2 separate regions of the Homo sapiens genome follow, and region 2 is linked to region 1. The links are contacts of gene promoters, found by promoter capture Hi-C in blood cells and fetal thymus (Javierre and others, 2016). All regions are on one chromosome and are shown on one strand. The core of a region is centred on a gene start or on the middle of the fragment in contact, and the rest is flanking DNA. Distances in the headings are between cores, read along the strand shown. Region 1 holds the start of RALYL (RALY RNA binding protein like). Region 2 overlaps LINC02839 (long intergenic non-protein coding RNA 2839).

What was found. The method cuts DNA at HindIII sites, captures the fragments that hold promoters and counts their contacts. A CHiCAGO score of 5 or more calls a contact.
Region 2: a fragment that was not itself captured here is called in contact with the fragment with the promoter of RALYL in region 1 in 1 of 17 cell types (total B cells); the score reaches 6.3 in total B cells.

The regions. Positions count from the first base shown.
Region 1 is chr8:84,180,201-84,185,723 of GRCh38, forward strand. It overlaps RALYL (RALY RNA binding protein like), which reads left to right and starts at 3,074. Exons shown (of 9, transcript NM_173848.7): 1 at 3,074-4,224. The HindIII fragment of the contact is 11,643 bases long and covers 1-5,427 here.
Region 2 is chr8:82,133,196-82,138,472 of GRCh38, forward strand. All of the region lies in intron 2 of LINC02839 (long intergenic non-protein coding RNA 2839), which reads right to left. Among named protein-coding and RNA genes, the nearest start is that of LINC02839, 25 kb to the right of the region's middle. The HindIII fragment of the contact is 623 bases long and covers 3,276-3,898 here.

The DNA.
Region 1 (5,523 bases), core at 1,824-4,323:
ACCATGATATTATAACCTAATTTCTAAGTGTATATTTATATTTTATATATATATATATAGTTATGGTTCATATATCTTCAATATTTTCTTATGGAAACAAACATTGAGATTACATAGCATAAATTTTAAAATAGATTTTTTTCCTCAGTTACCATCATTTGTTTTATCTTACATTTAGTGTACTTTTCAATTATACCATGGCTTAGCTTGGAATGGACATGAACAGTTTACATGAAAACTTTGTTTTAAAAAGTCTCTGTAGTCAACTCCTGAAGACGTAACCACGATAACATGACCACATCTTTTGTACAGATTTTTCGTTAAGAAAAATTTAACCCCCTCACTTCTGCATTTCGTTTATTTTCTTCAGGTATTTTATAGAATCAAAAAGGTGAATATAAATATGTGTACTACAATGGTTATTTGTGGCAATAATAGGACTAAATTAATTCTCACAAATCTATTTTAGATCTACTGAATTTGAGCAAATCATGCCTTTGTTAATTGGCTTTGATGACATTACTGAAGAGTATTCAGTATCTTTGATGTATTTTTTGAATTTTTTTATTCTAGCTGTAAAACCAGATATAATTTTGGTTCAATCCTGTTTTTCCTGTGTACTAACAATAGAATCATGTGCAAATTACTCAAAATCTCTGACTTTATTTTTCTAATGGTTAAAATGAGTATAAAGTCAATGTCATGGAGCTGTTACAAAAATTAAATGAGTGGCTATACTTTCTAAATACCAGTTGCCTCAACCTGACTTTGTTTACTCTTGTTTATAATGCAGTGATACAACCCAAAAAGATGAAAATGGCACACTGGAAATAAACGATAGTGGAATATTTTGAGTACTCTAATGTAATTATATAAGTAAACGGGAAAAGTGCAGGGAGGATATTGATGTCTTGCTTTTCTTCAGCAGAGCTGCATTAACATAAAGGGGAGTCATTTTATTGAATAATAAAAGACTGACAATCACTGTGATTGGCTGACAGCCATTAGTGCAGTGTAATTCTAAATAGCTTGTTTTTCAAAGTTCTTCTTGAATAACTCTTCCCAGCCTGGTTGAAAGGTTCAAAACTCATTTTTAAAGTGAAGTTTTTCACATTTGAATACCACTGTGATATGAATGATGGAAAAAGATATGCATTAAAATATTTTCTTCTTAAATGTTTAGAATCAGATATATTTTCAAATGGAAGAGAAAATGTGGAAAATTTAACAAACTAAGTTTTAAATCCTAGATAAAATTAATTCAGGACTTGTGGAAGAAAAAGATCACGTGTAAAGAGATCTTACTTAATAAAATAAAATAAAATAAGTCCAACATGTTTTACAGCGAGAGCACAATATTTGATCTGTATTAGCCAGCTTAAAATTCTGTGATTTCCGAGTAGAACTCAAGGCTTCCAAAGTTATCAAATCCACTTTGATGTATTCATCTCTCTCTGTCAGTATTCCTAATCAACAGTCCTCCCTGGAAAGTATGTATAATAAGTGGGTGTACAGTTGGCAACTCACCAAAATAAATATTTAGTGATATTTTAATGGCTATTTTAAATCTCTTATTTAAATTGCGGATTAAAACTTTATTTGGCCAATGAATTCTGAGCACAATGTTTGAGGACCATATTTGCTACTGAAGCTCTGTGTGAAGGATGTGTACTTAATTTTCAGAATGTCGAGGTTAGATCATCTCTGATGGAGGCATTTTATATGAAACGTCAGCATTGGAAACATTGAGATAAAGATCGGGAGCAGGAATCTTTGAACTGCAGAATTGTGTTAATTGCTCATTCTCAAATATAGAGACGCCAATTAATTCCACACAACCTAGATTCAAAGCAGCACAGGGAAATGGTCCTGAGGTGAGTATTGTACAAAAATGAAGAAAAATAGATGTGTTCTAGCGTCCACAAAGCTGATTCTTCAACAGGCAGTAATAGAAGCCCAATGCACCCAGCGATTGGCTGATGGCATCTTTGTTCAGGCGATCGATGAGCGCCCTAACCCACACGCTGGGTGGAGAAATCCCTCTGCCACCCTCACCTTCAGAATCCACTGCTCAGCCACCTGGCTCCCGCGGGGTGCGCCACCGCCTCACTGCTGGTACACGTCTCCCCCTCTCGACCGCCAAGTGCTTGCTCCCTCCAGGCGAGCACTCACACAATGGACTCACTTGTTTCCCATGCCCCTCTCCTTTGACTTCCAGCCTCAGCGAACAACTTGAGCAAGAGTCAAACAGGAGTCTCTGCCATGGAGCATAGACCCTTGGAGCTTTCCAGACCAGCTCAGAAGCACGGGCGCACACACAGACAAAACAATGCCTTGTCCACGAATGAATAAAGGACACCCATGCCCCCACCCACCGCTCCGCAACCCGCAGAAAGAAACCCGGGACGGGGTTTCCTAAATAAGAGATTTTGTTGTGTCTTTCAAACTGCAAGCATTCCCCTTGAAGACGGCGAAAGAGAGGCTGTGCGTTCAGATGGCAATAAAGATTGACAGTGGCTTTGCCCGTGACAACGCCCCCAGCATCGCGCTGAGCCAGGTTCCCTGAGAACCGGGAGGGGGAAACGCAGATCTAGGGAGGAGGGAACAGCAGAGGCAAAGGCAGCTTGGGAGGGATGGGAAATGGAAAATCAGGGAAACAAACAAACAAACAAACAAAATGAATGAGTGAATGTGGGCTTGAATAGTAAAACTTCCAGAGAGAAGACGATGGGATCTCTCCCCAGGTAACTACCTGTAGATGAAAAATAGATGAAATACACAAGGAAGTGGCAAGCAACAACTTTGAGGTGAGCAGCAAGTTGTGCACCTCCTCTCAAGGCGCTGGATCAGCACCCCTGAGCTGCCCCCACAGCACACACTCCCAATGCGAGGCGGCGGCGGCAGCAACAGAGGCAGCAGCAGCAATCGCGGCAGCAGCGGCAGAGGCGGCGGCAGCTGCGCGCCTCGGGCCCAACCCCGCTCGGCTCCCCCTCTCGCCGGCGCCCTGCCTGTCTTGCGTGTGCGTGTGCGTGTGCTCAGCCTCAGCGTGAGGGGCACCTGCTCGTCTGGGCTCACAGCGAAGGCAGCCTCGCCGCGAGCTGCCGCTGCCGCTGCTGCCGCCACTGGTGTTGCCGCTCTCAGGCGCCAGGCTCCCCGTCGCCGCCGCCGCCGCCTCGCCAGCCAGAGTTGGGCTCCGTGGGCTTCCCCCCTCGCAGCCTCGGTCCTTCCCCGCTGCCTGCAAGTCAGCCTGGCTCCGAGTCACGTGTCAGTGCCTGAGGCAGAGACTGCGAGAAAAAAACGCGCTTCATTCCTTCTTCCACCGCCATACTGTATTTTATACTAAATCTCATTTTTATTCCAACATTTTACTCCCGCTCGGTGAGTACCTTCTCAGTGGCATTCTTGTCCTATTCTTTTTTTTGTCCTTTTTTTTGGTTTTTTGTTTTTTTTGTTTTTGTTTTTTTTCTTTTTTTCCACTTCTTTGATTATTGTTTATATTTGGGAAAGCTGGAGGAGCATGGTTTTGAGCCTTTTCCTGAATCCAAGTTTTTCTAGCATGCGATCGTTCTGTAGACAAGGCGCTGTGTCTCGGAGTCCGCGGCGACCGTGCCCGCTGGGAGCGTCTCCCAAGTCCAGCAAAATGTGCAACTGGTTTTATGGAAAAAGCGATGTGAAGTATGGTGCCTATTTTTTTCCTTTGTAAAAATAAAAAGCATGTTTCTAACTCTTTTTTTGCATACTCTTTTTCTGATAACATTTTTGTATAGGTGGGATTTTACGGCAGTGTTTACAAGTTTGTGGTCTTGCAATACTGGTGCAAACCACTGAGCAAAGACATTAATTTTATATTTTTTGTGCCCTTTTTGGAAGCCGGTGAAAACAAATTCGTTTTTTTTCCCTCCTGTTTTTGATACCCATTGATAACATGAAACTTTTCTTACAGCTGGTGATTGGGATCATTTTTAAGCAAAATACTTTTTTCCTCCTTTAAATTAACTATGACTTTTGCACATTTGACTTTTTTAAAAAACCGAGATAATTTTATGATAGATATCCTGATATCTATATCTATATTGTCCCTTATTTCTCCCCCTTCCCTCCCCGTAAATCAATTTTCAAATGATGGCAGTGGAAGGTTTTTCTGGAAAAAAAAAAATGAAGTGCGGTTTGGTTTCCTTGTCAACGGAGGATGAAGTGAACAGCTGAGCAGCTCGCAGAGAGCAGGTACTTGGTCCCCTTGGAGGCGTTTCCCGGGTGTGCAGTGGCAACACTGGTCCTAGCAAAGAAATGTGTGAGTGTGAGTGTGTGTGTGTGTCTGTGTTTGCGCGCGCGCATCTCCGGGCAGTGTCCGAGCCCGAGGTGGGGAGAGCGGCGCAGGGAGCCAGGGAAAACCAAAGTCCGTTCCCTGCTTCAGGATCGTTTTCTAGATGTGCGCAAAATACAGTCCCCTCCCCCCACCCCTCCCACGGTGAGCTGCGCCCAGGTCGTCTCCCGGCGGGGCGGGTGGCGTCTGCGCTGCGGGCCGCGCCGGCCGGGCACTAGGCGGCCGGCGGGCCCTGTAAGTTCTCCGAGGGCCACTTGCACAGCAGGAGGGGCGAGGGCCGTGTACGTGGCGCTGGCCGTCGGGCGGGCTAGAGGGGACCCTCAGAGCACCCGGGAGATGGGGGTAGAAGCGGCAGAGACCGCATATTCCGGAGGGGCTGGCTCCAGGCCACGCGAGCCGGAGCTGGAGACATTTCCAGAGCCTTGAGGATGGCACCGGCCCTCGCACGCTCAACTCCTGCTCCTCCTCTTCGCAATGAGTAAACGACGCAGTAGGTCCTACCCAGCCTATTTTGCTTTACCAAAGGGCTTTGCTTTCTTAGGGATGCTGTCTTTGGATCTTTTTTTTCCCTGTTGTGTTGCGTTGGTTTTAAGTGCCTGCTGGTGTCGTCTTCCAGGGGATGGGGAAATAGTTTCTTATAAGATGATCACTTGGGTTTAATGTTGAGGACGACGCTGTTAGTTTGCAGTAATGACCCTACACCTCTAAGGTATTAAAAAAATGCCTTTTATTTAAATTTTGTTAAAGGGGCAGAGTTTTCCCTCTTTTTAACCACCTGATACTGGCTCTAAAGGTTTTCCCCTGAGAACTGTGTACAGGGCAGGAGTGAGGGGTTGGTGATAGAGGTGATGATTTCGTGTGTTGGTAGCACTGACGTATTCAATGTTGAATGTATTCTATGATATTTTATGATTATCCTGTTACATGTTTTCAGTATAATTTAGCATTACTTTTCAGAGACGTACCAGTTGGCAATAAAAAGCCTTTTCTGTATTTAACACTGTGACCGAATCTGCTGGAAATTTTTCTGTCCAAATAAATTTCCTGAAGGCATACATCTTAAAATCTGGAGAGTCACCATTATTTAAATACTTTGATTTTGAAGCTTTGATTTTCTTACCTTTTCCCCCCTTAAATGAAAAGCTTAGCTTTAAATTACCATGTGTATATACTTTGAATTCTGTAAAATAAACATAAAG
Region 2 (5,277 bases), core at 2,337-4,836, 2.0 Mb before region 1:
GAGATGGATAAATTACTGGAAAAAATACAACCCTTCCAGATTAAATCAGGAAGAAATGGAAACTCTGAACAGACCAATAACAAGTAGCAAGATTGAAATAGTAATAAAATTGCCAAGAAAAAAAAGTCCAGGACCAGACAAGTTCACAGCTGAATTTTATCAGAAATTCAAAGAAGAATTCATACCAAACTTAGTGAAACTATTCCAAAAGATAGAAAAAGAGGGAGTTCTCCCTAAATCATACTATGAAGACAGTATTACCCTAATACCAAAACCAGGAAAGGATGTAACAAAAAAAAGAAAACTATAGACCAATATCCCTGATGAACATAAATGCAGAAATCCTCAGCAAAATACTAGCTAATCAAATCCAACATATCAAAAAGATAATAAACCGTGAGTAAGTGGGATTCATAACCGTGATGCAGAGATGGTTTAACATATACAAGTCAATAAATGTGATACATCACATAAACAGAATTAAAAACCAGAATTATCAGATTGTCTCAATAGATGCAGAAAAAGCATTTGACAAAAATCCAGCAACCCCTTATGATTAAAACTCTCAGGAAAATTGAAATAGAAAGAACATAACCTCAAAGCAATAAAAGCCATCTATGACAAACCCACAGCCAAACTTATACTGAACAGGGAAAAGTTGAAAGCATTCCCTGTGAGAATTGGAATAAGACAAAGATGCCCACTTTCACCACTTCTATTCAACATAATACTGGAAGTCCTAGCCAGAGTAATCAGACAAGAGAAAGAAATCAAGGGCATCCAATCAGTAAGGAGGAAGTCAAACTGTCACTGTTCACCAATGATATGATCATATCCCTAGAAAACCCTAAAGACTCATGCAAAAAGCTCCCAGATGTGATAAATGAATTCAGTAATGTTTTGGGATACAAATTCTGTGTACACAAATCAGTAGCACTGCTATACCAAGGCAAAACTGCAAGAAATGCTAAAAGAAGTTCTAAATCTTGAAACTTCAACACCAAAAACAACCAAGCTGAGAATAAAATCAAGAACTCTATCCCTTTTACAACAGCTGAAAACAAACAAACGAACAAAAAAACTTGGATATATACCAAACCGAGGAGGTAAAAGATCTCTACAAAGAAAACTACAAAATACTGCTGAAAGAAATTATTGATGACACAAACAAACGGAAACACAAATGGAAATATGAAATCAATATTGATTCTACCCATCCCATGCTTATGGATGGGTAGAATCAATATTGTAATAATGCCCATATTGTCAAAAGTAATCTACAGATTCAATGCAATTCCCATCAAAGTACCATCATCCCTCTTCACAAAACTAGAAAAAAACAATCCTAAAGTACATATGGAATCAAAATAGACCCTGCATAGCCAAAGCAAGACTAAGCAAATAGAACAAATCTGGAGGCATCACATTACCCAACTTCAAACTATACTACAAGGCTATGGGCCATGGTTACCAAAACAGCATAATACTGGTATAAAAATAGGCACATAGACCAATGGAACAGAATTGAGAACTCAGAAATAAAGCCAAATACTTACAGCCAACTGATCTTTGACAAAGCAGACAAAAATATAAAGGGGGGGAAAGGACACCCTATTCAACAAATGATGCTGGGATAATTGAAAAGCCACATGTAGAAGAATGAAACTGGATCCTCATTTCTCACCTTATACAAAATTCAACTCAAGATGGATCAAAGACTTAAATATAAGACCTGAAAGCATAAAAATTCTAGAAGATAACATCAGTAGAACTCTTCTAGTTGTTGGCATAGGCAAAGACTTCATGACCAAGAACCCAAAAGCAAATGCAACAAAAACAAAAATAAATAGATGGGATGTAACTAAACTAAAAAACTTCTGCACAGCAAAAGAAATAATCAGCAGAGTAAACAGACAACCCACAGAATGTGAGAAAATATTTGCAAAGTATGCATCCCACAAAGAACTAATATTCAGAAACTGCAAGGAACTCAAACAAATCAGCAAGAAAAAAACAAATAACCCCATCAAAAAGCGGGCAAAGGACATGAATAGATAATTCTCAAAAGAAGATATACAAATGGTCAGCAGACATATGAAAAAATACTCAACATCACTAATTATTAGGGAAATGAAAATTAAAGCTGTAATGTGATACTATCTCACTCCTGCAAGAATGGCCATAATTTAAAAATAAAAAAAAAATAGATGTTGGTGTGGATGTGGTAAAAACCAAACACTTTTACTCTGCTTGTAGGAATGAAACTGATACAACCACTATGGAAAACAGTGTGGAAATTCCTTAAAGAACTAAAAGTAGAACTACCATTTGATCCAGCAATCCCACTACTGGGTATCTACCCAGAGAAAAGGAATTAATTATATGAAAAAGACACTTGCACGCACATGTTTATAGTTACAACATTTGCAATTGCAAAAACATGAAACCAGCCCAAGTGCCCATCAATCAATGAGTGCATATAACAAATGTGATATATATACACCATGGAATACTATTCAGTCATAAAAAGGAACGAAATAATGGCATTTGCAGCAAGTTGGATGGGATTGGAGACCATTATTCTAGGTGAAGTAACTCAGGACTGGCAAACCAAATATTCCTTGTTCTCACTTATAAGTGGGAGCTAAACTATGAGGATGCAAAGACATAAGAATGATATAATGGACTTTGGGGATTTGGGGGGAAGTAGTGGGGGAGGATGAGAGATAAAAGTTTACACATTGGGCAGTGTACACTGCTTGGGTGATGAGGGCACCAAAATCTCAGAAATTACCACTATAGAACTTATCTATGTAACAAAAAACCATCTGTTTTCCCAAAACTATTGAAATTAAAAAAAAATTTTTTTCTCTGTATTCTGATTGCTTTTTCTATGTGTACATACAGTAGAGATAATGTGCAAAGGGCTCTATTATATGTCCTTGCTATCACATCATACTATAGGTGTGTGTGTTGATATCTATGCCAGTTTTTCCTATTAAGCCATATACTATGTGCAGGATAGGGGACTCTGTCTTGTACATGCTTTTTACTCTCCCCACTGAATCCATTGTTATGTCTGACATATAGTAGGCATTAACTTCATTAAATAAATAAAAAGTTCTCCTTATTTAAGTCAGTTTACTTTCTATGTTTTGGCCCACCAGATGATTGATTGCATTCCACTAAATATGATTATGTGTTCAATGAACAAAAATAGAATTATGTCTGTTTTTGGTTAACTGATCAATTAATATTTCTATTACTGTATTATAAGCTTTATGAGGGCAAAGGTTATGTCTATTGTGTATTTCTATGTCCCTTGTGGTGAATACAGTAATTATGAATAAATGTTGAATAAATGAATGAATAAATTGGAATGCAGAAATTTTGGGTTGGGTTTTCTAAATTCTTTGTGGAGTCCTCTTCATGTGATATTTTTCTTCAGGGATGTCCTCTATTCTTTGAACAGTTCTGGTGGCTAAAAAGTCAGTTCTTGCCTATAGTATAGAAAATGCCCCACTTTCCTTGGTGCCACTTTTATGACTCTGGCTGTTTTTTCCTCTAAGGTGGTGTTAGTGGAGGCTTCAATTCAGAGTTAATTAATTCATATTTTATAGATTGAGAATAAGCCTACAAGTGTTATGAAGTGGATTATTTTTAGCATTCTCTCAACTCCTGGGCTTTGTATCTCACTACTCACATCCTTATTCTAAAATCTCAGTGAAGTGACTAGTACCCTCTCTTCCTCCCACACCTGACCTACTCTCTCTGATAAACACTTCACGTTTTAGAATTATGGCTCCTTGATTTCATAATTCTCATATATTGGAATTATGGCTCCTTGATTCCCAGTGAGAGTGTGGGAAGAGGGATGCAAACCTCAGGTTTGAGCCTAAGCTTTTATAAACAGATAGAAACACAGTATGTTTACTGGGTGAATGAATGAATCAGTGGAGACCAAAATAAAGATAAATGATGCATAAGATCTTAGACAGAATTTATCAAGTAGCACTCAGGAGTGAAAGTCATACTTTCCTGAAGTTGTATATTTCTAGCTAGTTGTTTGGTTTGTGATAGATAATGAATTTCTTTTTCTTTTTAAGAAGCTAATTTCTACTCTGGATACTCAAAAAAGTATGGAATTAATTTAAAAATTACACATTGGTTTTATTTCAAATAGTCTTTAGATCTAAGAATCTGTGTTTATGTCTAACTCAAGTATGAGTGATTGTCTTCCTCTTTTCCTACTTTTCGCTATTGTAAAGTCACTCTTCACACAGTTTCTCAGTTAGATCACATTCTGAAGAGGAGAGAAAATACTTGAACTCGTCTAGAAAAAAACATACCTAATACTCAAGTATTTAGTTCACATACAAACGACATTATTTTCTAGTACAAAAATTATAGGACATTATTCAGCCTAATGATTTATTCAACAAGTATTCCTTGAATGCATATTATGTTAGGATACTATATCATGGTGTTGGATATAGAGGAGGATGTAAAGTTGAACAAGAGTTCTTTGAGAATCTTTCGTCTGGTGAAGAAGACAGATACAATTCAACTGCTATTAAACGAGCAGGGAAGTAGGATGGTTTTTTTTTCTTATTAAGAAGACCACAGACAGAAAAATGTTCATCATGAACAGAAGTAAAATTATTTCATTCGGAGGAAACAAAACACAAATAAAGTTAAAGAATATATGATTTGCCGGGTATGGTAGCTCACACCTGTAATCCCAGCACTTTGGGAGGCTGAAGTGGGTGGATGCTTGAGCTCAGGAGTTTGAGACCATCCCAGGCAACATGGTGAAACCTCATCTGTACAAAAAATACAAAAAATAGCTGGACTTGGTGGCACATGCCTGTGGTCCCAGCTACTTGGGAAGCTGAGGTGGGAGGATCCCTTGAGCCCAGGAAGCAGAGTTGCAATGAACTAAGATCATGTCAGTGCACTCCAGCCTGGGCAACAGATTGAGACCCTGTCTTTTAAAAAAAGAAAAAAAAAAGAATATATGATTTGTTTGAGAAGCAATAAGAAAGACTGAGTGGCTGGAAAGTAAAGGAGTGGGCCATGTGGGAGCAGAGTGGTTTCATTTGGAGTTTCACCAAAGATGACAGTGACAACATGAATAACAATGATAACGTGATGTGATAAAGGATTACCTACAGTAAGGGAAGACTGAAAAAGAGTGACACAGTTAATACTCGATCCAGGGCATGATAAACATTTGAGGAACAGCACTGGCCATGAAATGGAGAGGAAAGGGAAGTG